4 separate regions of the Homo sapiens genome follow, and regions 1, 3 and 4 are each linked to region 2. The links are contacts of gene promoters, found by promoter capture Hi-C in blood cells and fetal thymus (Javierre and others, 2016). All regions are on one chromosome and are shown on one strand. Each heading gives the region's core, a stretch centred on a gene start or on the middle of the fragment in contact. The rest is flanking DNA. Distances are from core to core; before and after follow the strand shown. Region 1 overlaps LOC101928272 (a long non-coding RNA gene). Region 2 holds the start of ITIH5 (inter-alpha-trypsin inhibitor heavy chain 5). Region 3 has its middle 32 kb from the start of LINC00709. Region 4 has its middle 52 kb from the start of LINC00709.

Region 1 (2,814 bases), core at 103-2,602, 1.6 Mb before region 2:
ATTTTCAGATATAGAAATTGAATGATTCAAATACTAATGCAAAAGGCCAAGTTTGCCTTTAAAAAATAATCATTTAGTTGAGATTCCTTGAAGTACCCAATTCCATTTTCATCACCTCCCTCTGAAAAGGTATTTTTAAATGAGCTATATGCAATGAGTTAGTTATGTAAATAAATAGTGGTCTAGAAAATATTGCACCATTTCTAGTGGTCTAGAAAATATTGCGCCATTAAAGAATTACAAATACCAGAGGAACTTCCTGAATGTTTAGATCCTGAAAAACTGTTTTTTTTTTAATCAGACTTGTCATAGGAGAAGTATAGGATTCAAATCAAAAGAAAGAAAGAGAGACAGAGAGAGAGAGACTTAAGGGACCTCATATAATATCCTCAAGGTTTTACCCCAAGCACAGTATTATGAGCAGCGAGCACAATGATTTGCCCACAGTAAATTTTCAACCATTGAGCATGCATTCACTCATTCATTCATTCATTCAACAAAGATTTTTTTGAATGCATAATCCTGTTAGCAATGTTTAAGGCACTGAGACTATCATTGCTAACAAGACAGACAAGGTTTCTGCCCCTCAGCACTTAGACATTTATACATGGGTGTCTAATAAGTAATATGAATAAATGAATTAATAAATTGTGGGCCTCTTTAGAACAACTTCCTTTGGTTTTGGATTTAGACTAACCTAGATCCAAAGCCCCTCTCACAAGCTATTTGGAAAATCAACATGCATATGATTTACTGACACACATTTGTCACTCATTAAGTGTGAATTCCCCTCTCATTCTAAGAGGGCAAGAAATGCTCTCTTAGCTCTTCTGGACGTATAAAATGTAACAATTTGATTGTTAGCTTTGTAAACTAAAAAGATAAGTGTAGTTAGAATACTAATTTCTATAAACAAGATGATGGGAACTTTACTGAATCAATGAAAAAGAAATTAGGTTTTAAATTTTTTCGTGTAACTTTCTAAATATGTTGTTTCCACATTTGTAATTTTTAATTATTAATAATTTAGGCTAATCATACTTAAAATTAAGTTGCATAATTTATTAACTTGATGATTGATCTCTTGACAATACAAATATATCTGAGGTATGTAATGCTTAAATATATAGCATATAATTAACTATTGAAATATTTTGATGAGGCCAATGTGCTACTCTTCCATAATTTTGCCTCTGTAATACTTACAAAATATTGATGGATAATGCCTTCAGTTACATTCTAATATTGGCAAAGGAATGTACTTGATTTTTTTTCTCACAAACACCTCTGCCTTGGTTGAAAGAAGCAGTAACACTTTGAAGAAGAGACCTTCCCTTCAGTGATTTGGTTGTATGGTCAAAGTAAGAGAAACTCTCAATTGTCCATCAAAATACACTCTCCTTTCTTTGGGGATATATGCTTTTTGCATTTTCTTTCTTTTTTTTTAAAGTTGGGGAGGTTGTTGCTTTTGAGGGGAGCTACACTTTTTTTTTTTTTTTTTCCTTTGTGTGGAGAATAGGGTCATGCTATATTGCCCAGGCAAGTCTCAAACTCCTGGACTCAAGCTATTCTCCCGCCTCTGCCTCCCTAAGAGCTGGGATTACAGACGTGAGCCACCACACCTGGTGGTTTTTGCATTTTCTATCCTCACTTGCAGTTAAGTGTGGTTATGTGATTCAGTTCTTGACAATAAAATTTGAAGGCAAAGGACTTGTACCATTTCCAGCCCAGGGCTTTAGGAAAAGCTATACCTTCCACTAGCTGGAATCTATATGCTACAGCAAGTCAGACTGACCTGGCGGACAACAGCAATGAACCACTGAATTATGGAGCAAAACATGTCAGGTCCCCTAGGTTCAATTCGATAATTTTTTATAGTAGCTACTGTAAGTCAGGGACTGTCTAGAAGCTCAGAATACATCAACACACAAAACAGATGCAGATCCTTCCCTTACTTTTATTCCAATGGGAAAATACAGAGAGTAAATAGGATAATCAATGAGTAAATTACAACATCTGTTATAAAAATAAAAGTGCTATGAGAAGAATTAAGTAAGTGTTTTGGGAAGGAGAAGCATTAGTGGGACTGGGGTGCCTCCATAGGGAAGACGCCATTTCAGCAAAGTCTTTTTGAACCAATCAGAATAGACACCAGACACTAAACAACAAATGTGCGCTCCTGGCTGGAGATCAGCCCTACACGTTTTGTGAACTCCCCGTGCTTTTTCTTGCCAATGTCCATGCCTTTCTCTTTGTCTAGGATTACATCCTTCTGACTCTACATATCTAAACCCGACAGGTGATTTCTTCCTTGACTTTCTTTTTTTTTGTATGTGACCAAACCCAACACTCTCTTTGCAAAACCAAAAATATATTTCTACTTGAAACTGGGCATTAATTTGGCTTTTCTTTCCTCAATGAAAGAAGAGGACAGGCAGCATTAGTATCTAGGTGTGGTCTATTTTTTTCCCATTTGTTACATCGAAATGTTTTATGGCACCTTAGCTTAAATGCAAGTTCTTTGGAGAATCGGCCTGCGCACCTTAGCTTAAATGCAAGTAGTTCCTTGGAGAATTGGCCTATGGCTTCATAGCACTGCCTCCCAAACCAGGTTGAGTTTCCTTCTACATACAGTTGTGGCTGCCTAAATTTCTGCTTTGTAATACTTAGAATTACTAGCTCAATGTCATTCTTTTCTGATAGACTGTAAGCTTCTTGAAGGCAGGTGCTATTTCTTCCTTGTTCACTGGTTGTCTGTTTTATCTCTAATGTGGAGAACTGAATAGACCAGACAAGAATGGTCAAGAAACACTT
Region 2 (2,852 bases), core at 254-2,753:
CCTATTTAGATGAAATTATCACAGAGACATAAAAAACATCCTTTGCAACATGAAATAAACAAGTAGCCCCAACTGCAATGTGTATCACCAGATAAAAAAGACGCACTCAGCCTGTAGAAGGCCAGGTGTGGACGGCTGGTGGGTAAGAATTCTTCCAATGGCAGGATGGAAGTATCACCAATAGTTTGTAACTAAGATACATACTGGCACTCACTTACATGATTAATAACCAGAAACTCAGAAATACTACACGCTACCAAGATACTTCCCTCGTCTCCTCTGTTTCCTTAGAACATAAAGGCTGGCAGCCTTGCTAGTCCCTCCTGCGCTAGACTGCAGGTAGTATCCTTTGTCCTGCCTATTAAGCGTCCCTGGCCAATGCAGAGGGGACGATCTGCCGGCTTCAGGCTGGCAGGTGCGGGGTGGGCTGTGTGCTGAGGACCAGGCTGGCCTTCTCGCGTCCTCTGGCGACAGAAATTAAGCAAGTCCGCAAAGAAGCATATTGCACCTTGAGGGAGAGGAAGAAAGAGTTGCGGGGGCGCGTGGGGTAGGGCCCGGGAGGCAGTGGGTGTTGGCAAGAAACGGAGTAGGAGGCTCTACAGAGGAGACTGGTCCTTGGTTAAGTGTCACAGCCGCAGGATGGGAGGGTGTGGGAGGGGTCCGTGGGGCCAACACAGGTGGCCCCTGCTGTGCGCGGCGAGGCAGGCTTGGAATGCCTTCTCCCCGAACAGAGCTAGCCCAGCACTGGGGGCTGGAGGCGCGGCTCTGGTGGGACTGAGGCCGGGAAGCGGCGCCGGGCGGGGTGGGGACTGGGGAGGAGGCGGGGCTGGTGTGGGGGCCACAGGGAGGCGGGCCGGGTTTAAGGGGGTGGCTGTAGGTGGGGTCTGGGAAGTTGGCCTCGGTGGGGACAGGGACAGGAGAGGTGGGGCCGGGACTGGGGAGGTGGGGGGAAATGGGGGCGTGGAGAAACGGAGCTTGGGGTTGGGGACCTGGGGAAGCTGGGTCCTGACTGGGGACAGGGAGGCGAGGCCGGGCTTGGGGGGTGTCCAGGGAGGCAGGGTGTGGGAAGGTCTGGGGCGGGGAAGTGGGGTCTGGGCTGGGGTGGGAGAGTTGGAGTCCAGAAGGGGACCGCGGGGTGGAAGGGGTCCGGGCTGGGACCGGGGTAGGCGGAGTCCAGGAGGGGACGCAGGGTGGGCGGGGTCCGGGCTGGGTCCGTGGGGTGGGCGGGGTCCGGGCTGGGACGCGGGGTGGGCGGGGTCCGGGCTGGGTCCGTGGGGTGGGCGGGGTCCGGGCTGGGTCCGTGGGGTGGGCGGAGTCCAGGAGGGGACCGCAGGGTGGGCGGGGTCCGGGCTGGGTCCGTGGGGTGGGCGGGGTCCGGGCTGGGTCCGTGGGGTGGGCGGGGTCCGGGCTGGGACCGCGGGGTGGGCGGGGTCCGGGCTGGGTCCGTGGGGTGGGCGGGGTCCGGGCTGGGACCGCGGGGTGGGCGGCCCCGAGAGCGTCCCGCAGTGGCTGGAGCCCTGGGCGCTGCAAAGCGTGTCCCGCCGGGTCCCCGAGCGTCCCGCGCCCTCGCCCCGCCATGCTCCTGCTGCTGGGGCTGTGCCTGGGGCTGTCCCTGTGTGTGGGGTCGCAGGAAGAGGCGCAGAGCTGGGGCCACTCTTCGGAGCAGGTAAGTGGAGCCGAGGGGAGCCGGGTCCCGGGCGCGGCCGCCCCCTTCCCTCCGCCGGCCCGGCCGCGGAGCTTCTGCCCGGGCCCCCTTCGACCGTCTCCCAGGCCCCCACCAGAGGCCCAGGGGTCCCTCTCTGTGGGTCACTCGTGCGTCACCTCTGTGTGAGCCGCGGTGCCTGATCTGGCCTGAGGCTTCCTGCAGAACTGTGCCCGGGACTTGTCCTGCGGAGCCGAGTTTTTCTTCTTGGCTCCTGTTGATTGCGCAGATTTCTGTTCGTCGTTGTTAATTTCTGAGGTAGCTCCAAAAGTTATTATAATTACAAGGTTTTTTCCTTATCACGCGTGGGGGGCAGTCTGCTGTTATCATCATTCCCAGTTGATCCAGGGAGAAAGGCAATATGAGAGGAGTTCTAGACTCCTGGGAGCCTCAGCTTTTCCCACCTGAAAACCGGGAGAACACGACTTTCCCATTTAGCGACTACCTACCGGTGGTTTAGCATTTAAAGGTGGCACCGAGAGCCAAAGCGTCTGAGTTCCTCGAGTTGCTGGTCTGTGCGTTTGTCAGGATTTGTGTTTCAAATGTCTTAACCTCGCAGGCGAATAAAACCTGCAAATATGAAATGTCAATAAAATGATGAATAGAGCATTTTTGTCTTTAAAAAGTATGAAGCGGGTTCACACAAATAGCATTGAGAGCTAATGTGCAACATGGCCCTGTCACAAAGTAGAAGTGCTTTCACACACATGCCATTTAAATATTTAAGCCGTTTAGCTTCCAGCGTGTTTGTGCACGGTGGGAGGAAGATACAAGTAGGCGGACCTTTTCTCCCTTTTCCAGCCCCTGTTTTGAAGAGCAGTTTTGAAGCCCAACTGCCTAAATATGAAGACAGTTATCTTCATGTTCTCTGTCCTGTGAATGTGCTTAACAGTAAAGTGGTAGTAATGATACTTCCTTCTAGGGGGGGAGTAGCTAATAAAATCCCAGGAGGCATCGTAGTGATGTTGGAAAAGTGCAGGCTTTGGATGCAGAGACAGGCTGGGCTTTAGTTGTGTGTTCCGGGCAAGCCCTTTAATCTCTCAGAGCCTTCATGTCCTCGTTGGTCAGGGCAGGGAATGCGGCTCTTTTTGAGCAAACTTGCAAGGACTCAGCTAATTTGTGTTAAGCACCTGGTATACAGTGGACGCTC
Region 3 (2,953 bases), core at 241-2,740, 1.6 Mb before region 2:
TTGCAGGTTATGTCTCGACTGCCATGAATGAGACAGTGTGAAGAACAGAAACCAATGCAATGAACAGCCCTGGAAGCCGCCAGCGATGGCTTGTCTGACAACAGAAAGAGGCAGGTTTCTCTCCTGAGCCTTGCACAGACGATGCTGGCCCAAATCCTTCCTGATAAACATCAAATGGAGACAACCAGCTACAAGCAATTCCTCCAACAACAGAATAAATATTGGCACACCAAGAAATAATCTACTGATGGGAATAGAGGCCCTGAAAATCATCCCACAGTGAGTCAATCCCAAGTTCAGCAGCAAATCCTCATTTTGACAGAATCAGGAAGATGTTGAAGTGAGTATATTTCTGGTCAATACAAGAACATTTTTTCTTGGTTTTAACCTCCTCCTGGCAGTTCTGTGCCTTCTCATTTACCCCACCAGAGTTGTTCTTGCTAGACTTTTACTCTGGTATCAGAGTCTATTTAGCCAAGAGACTCACTGGGTATTAGCTAATTGGCCCATGGAGGAGCTTCCATAGTTTCCCTGTCCCCACTCAACATCAACTGCAGAAATTGATTCATAGGGGCCGTGGTCCCCTATTTGTTAGCAATACATGGATGTTTATCTGTTGAAGAAGACATTGTGGTACATTGGAAAGGGATTGGAATAGGAGCAAATAAGCCCCAGCTCCAGTCAGCAGTTTTACTGTGCTATGTGGATAATCATTTTGCTTTGCCAAACTCACAGACATGTTATGTGACTAGAATATGATATCTTGTGTAAGAGTACTTTCAAAATTATACTTACGTGGAAATGAGAACTGATATTAATACGTAATATATCTGTGAAACATTTTATGAGATTTTTCATGTCATTTCTCTTTGAAACAGATGAGTATCATTAGAATTTTTTTGCAATTTCTGAAAGGCAGACCTCTCAAAAAAGTTACACTGATATTTATTCTCGAGTATCGTAGCTTTTTATCCATTTATCCTTTTCTTTTTGTAAGTGTCCCATGATTTGGGGAACTTATTGTAGCAGTCAATGTAATTTACAAATTTAAATTACACTATAGGAGTAACTTAACTTCTTGCCTTGGGCAGCAGTGAAAGATAACTACTTTGTTTCTATTTGCAATAATAACTATTGATTAGATAAATAAATACTTTAATATCTCGGCCAAATCACCAGTGACATTTATGCCAATCCCTCTAATACTAAATCCATAAAATTTGAAAATAGTCTGTTTAATATTAATTTTATAGCCATGAATAAAGTACTCCTTCAATTTCTATGCTTCATGTAGCTTGTGTCTTTAACATCCATGTTTCTTACTCTACAGAGGAGGATACTAAAATTCAGTAATTAAGCCATGCAGCAAGTAAGACGTGGAGCTAGGATAGATACCCAAGCCCATAATTTTTCCAATATCTTATGTTGCCACTTGATTAACAATGCTTCTTAGAAGCATACTAATGGCAATGTCTATGATGGCAGTGACTGTACCTAAAAAATAAGTGTTTTTCCTATCACACGTCATTATGATCAGGTCACATTATATAATAAACATCAGTCATGTAAGGTGATGGAGTTTCTACTCAGAATGTTATTTTGCCACTAGTTAGCGTGTGTCACTAGTTAGATAATGACAAAATAGGGTTCAAAATTTTAAGTAATTTATATGCAGATAGACCAAGGAGAAAAATGTATTAGCAGTAGATTAAGGTTCAGAAACCAATGTTTTCTAATCCCAGATACCCATATGTATGCCTTTGAAAAAGTTATCAGGCAGAATTGAGGTATGGAAAGTAGAAGGCAGTCTGGGACTGCTCAAGGCTCAGTACGGAGCAGTACATGGAGTATCACATCATAGAGATCATTGACCATATAAAACACATATTCTTTCCTCAAAAATTTTAAAAGACACACTCACCAACTTTCTTTTTTTTAAACTTGTATTTTAAGTTCAGGGGTACATGTGCAGATTTGTTACACAGGTAAACTTGTGTCATGGGGGTTTGCTGTACAGATTATTTCATCACCCAGGTATTAAGCCTAGAACCCATTCGTTATTTTTCCTGATCCTCTCCCTCCCTCCTCCCACCTCCACCCTCTGAGAGGCCCCAGTGTGTGACATTCCCCTCTGTGTGTCCATACGTTCTTATCATTTAGCTCCCAGGTATACATGAAAACATGTGGTATTTGGTTTTCTCTTCCTGTGTGAGTTGCTAAGGATGAAGGCCTCAGCTGCATCCATGTCTCTTCAAAGGACATGATCTCATTCTTTTTTATGGCTGCATAGTATCCCATAGTGTATATATACCACATTTTCTTTATCCAGTCTATCATTGATGGACATTTATGTTGATTCTGTGTTGTGAATAGTGCTGCAATTAATATATGTGTATGTGTGTCCTAATAATAGGACGATTTGTATTCCTTTGGGTGTATACCCAATAATGGGATTGCTGGGTCAAATGATATTTATTTCTTTAGGTCTTTGAGGAATCGCCACAATGTTTTCCAAAATGGTTAAACTCATTTTTACTCTCACCAACGGTGTATAAACATTCCTTTTTCTTCACAACCCCACCAGAATCTGTATTTTTTTGACTTGTTAATAGTAGCCATTATGACTGGTGTGAGATGGTATCTCCTTGTGGTTTTGATTTGCATTTCTCTAATGGTCAGTGATGTTGAGCTTTTTTCATATGATCCTTGGCCGCATGCATGTCTTCTTTTGAAACATACTAACCAACTTCCAACTCACTATATGAACCTTGAAATATTTTGCTCAACATGTTTGAGGTTCTCTGTTCTCCTTATAGTTTTTGAAGCACTTCTTTCCTTGTGAGAGACTTCCTCCTGCCACCACCAAATCTGTATCAAAGCCAGAAATCTCTATGGATCTGAGGGCCATTTTTTTCTTTTCAAAATATCAGTAGGTATATCTGAAGTATGAACT
Region 4 (2,805 bases), core at 161-2,660, 1.7 Mb before region 2:
AGAATTTTAATCAGCCTGTCAATTTCTGCAAAGAAGTTTGAAGGGATTTTGATAGAGATTGTGTCGAATCTATAAACCAACCTGGGGAATAGTACTATCTAAATTTTAATTTAACAATATTAAGTTAATAATGTTTTATTGATCATTAATATTTATTCATCAATGGGATCTATTTCAATGACATATTCTATTATCATTAAATCTGTAAGCAGAAATAAACATAGGTAGTTTAGTAATCCACTCAAGGTTATGGAGTCCCTTTGACTATTGTAACTTGTGCTTTGCTGAGAAAGAAATAAGCCTTACTGAGGTTGCATTAAGCTTTTGGTAATTTTAAAAAATCTGTCTACGAGTAGCTTTAAAAAATAGGGTCCTCTCTTAAAAAGAAAAAAACCTCTGGATAAAGTATTGTTCGTATTGATTCCACTCTTCACCAACACCATCAGAGGCTGAGAGCATTTCTCTATTTATACTCCACCATCCTTAGAACATTGGTTTAGGTCCTGTGCTGGCTCTCTGAAGGTTACCAGATAAAAAGAGAAAGGAAAAATGCAAAGGTGGAAGGGGGAATGAAAAAGACAAAAGGCTTTCTTTTCTTTATTTATTTATTTTTTTTTTTGAGACGGAGTCTTGCTCAGTCACCAGGCTGGGGTGCAGTAGCGCGATCTTGGCTCACTGCAACCTCCACCTCCTGGGTTCAAGCTATTCTCCTGCTCCAGCCTCCCCAGTTGCTGGGACTTCAAGTGTGTGCCACCCACACCCAGCTAATGTTTGTATTTTTAGTTGAGATGGGGTTTCACCATGTTGGCCATGATGGTCTCAATTTCTTGACCTTGTGATCCTCCTGCCTCAGCCCCACAAAGTGCTGGGATTACAGGCATGAGCCACCGCGCCCGGCCAAGTCTTTCCTTCTTAATTGATGAACGAAAACCCTCCTGTGAGATTTCTGCTTATATGTCCTTGTCCAGAACTGAGTCATATAGCCACTTCTAACTGCAACGGAGTTTAAAGTTGTAGTTTTTTAGACTTTAGAACTTCAATAGTAGAAAGAGATGGGGAATGAGGTTGTAACTGAAGTTGATTCAGCCAATCCAGAAGGCTTGCTAACCTCGGTCTTCAATGCAGGAGACTGAGTGTCACTGTTTACCTCCCCTTCAAAGATTTTGGTGAAAAAAAAAAAACGTAAAACAGAAAATGTACAAGAAAACATGTAAATCAATAACAGATCTGTAAGAAGAAGAGGGAAAGTTTATTAACATATTTGAAAGAATTGATGGATGACAGGGAGCAGATGAGATTGGCTAAGGCAGAAGTGAGTTGTGAAAACAATAGGCCAACACCAACAAAGAAAAGAACCATTGCAGGGATAGGAGCTGTTCTTCATGAAGCACTCAACAAGCCTTGGAGGAACTCTGAGGAATGGTTAAAAGTGCAAGGAAGGCATGTTGATCAGAGGGTAGCTACAAGGATGATCATGTAAAGGACTATTGGCCATGCAGCTGGGTCAGCCATGCTCCTCCTTACTGTTCATACAGAATGGTGAGATGTAGAGTTTGTCCTCAGACTAAGGCACAGAAAATATCTCTTTAAGCAAAAGAAAATGCCTGTGGGAGAAGGAGGCATTCTGAAAGTGGGGTCTGGGAGTGGGCGATTAAGAAGGACAAAAGAGAAGTACATTCTAAAATTCTGAAATAGTATGAAGTGGGGGAAAAGGAAGACAACCCTGGTTATCAATGAAACACAACGAAATTCTCCATGACGAATGTAAAGGTCTCTTCTAATGAAAGTTATGCACTTCTCCACCTTCCTTTCCCTCTCCTCACCCAAACACCATCAGGGGAAACCTCCCTGTTGAGCCACTCAGACAATGAGCTGCAGTCAGCAGCCAGCTCTCTGTCAAAGGGCATGACTGAAGACAGAATTAGCATTGTGCAAGAAAGAGTCAAAGAAATCTCCCAGAATATAGAAAAATGGGGACCCAAGAAGTGAGATAAAAGTGAGAAGCTGTGGAGAACACATTGAGCAGATCCAGTAACCATTAGCAAAAGTCTTAGTAAAAACAAGGAAAAAAATTGTATATATGTATATATAATATTTTATATATATATATAATGAGGTTATTGAATTGTGGGATGAGAAGTGATAATTGTGACTGAATTAATAATTTGTTGAAGAATTTCTATGAACTGAGTAATAGAACAAATCTTGAGACTAAAGTGGCCCTTTGAGCAACAACAAAAAAAGTAGACACTTACTTAAATGTTTCTTAAGTTTCTGAACTCAAAGGATGTACAAAAAAATCAGAAGTGTTAGCCTCAAATTTGTCCGTTGAAAATATAGATGCTAACAAAAGATATTGACTTCTTTTCTAATTCTGTGGAAAAAAAATATTAGGAGCGAGACATTTGTCCACAAAAATTATCATTTAAGTTGAGGGCAAAGGTATCATTTATCATAAAGCATGAAAGGACTCAAAATTGTTGTCACCAACAAAGCTTTGTTATCAAAAATGCACTGGAGATAAATGAAACAAAAATATACAAGAGAAGAAGAAATGGAATTTAAGAGACATGAGAGACAATAAATAGTCAAATCAATGATTAAATCTTAAAAAGAGTATTTACAATGTAGGTGTGAAGATTACTGAAATTATTCAAATAGGATTGCTTTCTGATGCAAAATATGAATTATCTGTAGCCAGAAACTCATACGTTTAACCAAAACATGATTAATAAAAGTTGCAGTGGAATGATACTCAAATATTGCCTTGTTCAACATAGAGAGTTACATATACTCATTATTTTA

What was found. The method cuts DNA at HindIII sites, captures the fragments that hold promoters and counts their contacts. A CHiCAGO score of 5 or more calls a contact.
Region 1: a contact is called between a fragment that was not itself captured here and the fragment with the promoter of ITIH5 in region 2, in 1 of 17 cell types (endothelial precursors). The highest score is 7.5, in endothelial precursors.
Region 3: a contact is called between a fragment that was not itself captured here and the fragment with the promoter of ITIH5 in region 2, in 9 of 17 cell types (M2 macrophages, erythroblasts, endothelial precursors and 6 more). The highest score is 11.2, in M2 macrophages.
Region 4: a contact is called between a fragment that was not itself captured here and the fragment with the promoter of ITIH5 in region 2, in 1 of 17 cell types (M2 macrophages). The highest score is 5.5, in M2 macrophages.

The regions. Positions count from the first base shown.
Region 1 is chr10:9,287,415-9,290,228 of GRCh38, reverse strand. The region is part of intron 2 of LOC101928272 (a long non-coding RNA gene); the gene reads left to right. Among named protein-coding and RNA genes, the nearest start is that of LINC00709, 13 kb to the right of the region's middle. The HindIII fragment of the contact is 2,722 bases long and covers 1-2,713 here.
Region 2 is chr10:7,665,617-7,668,468 of GRCh38, reverse strand. It overlaps ITIH5 (inter-alpha-trypsin inhibitor heavy chain 5), which reads left to right and starts at 1,503. Exons shown (of 14, transcript NM_030569.7): 1 at 1,503-1,666. The coding sequence starts at 1,577. The HindIII fragment of the contact is 13,140 bases long and covers 1-2,852 here.
Region 3 is chr10:9,305,781-9,308,733 of GRCh38, reverse strand. No RefSeq gene overlaps it. Among named protein-coding and RNA genes, the nearest start is that of LINC00709, 32 kb to the right of the region's middle. The HindIII fragment of the contact is 7,013 bases long and covers 1-2,953 here.
Region 4 is chr10:9,326,177-9,328,981 of GRCh38, reverse strand. No RefSeq gene overlaps it. Among named protein-coding and RNA genes, the nearest start is that of LINC00709, 52 kb to the right of the region's middle. The HindIII fragment of the contact is 2,174 bases long and covers 324-2,497 here.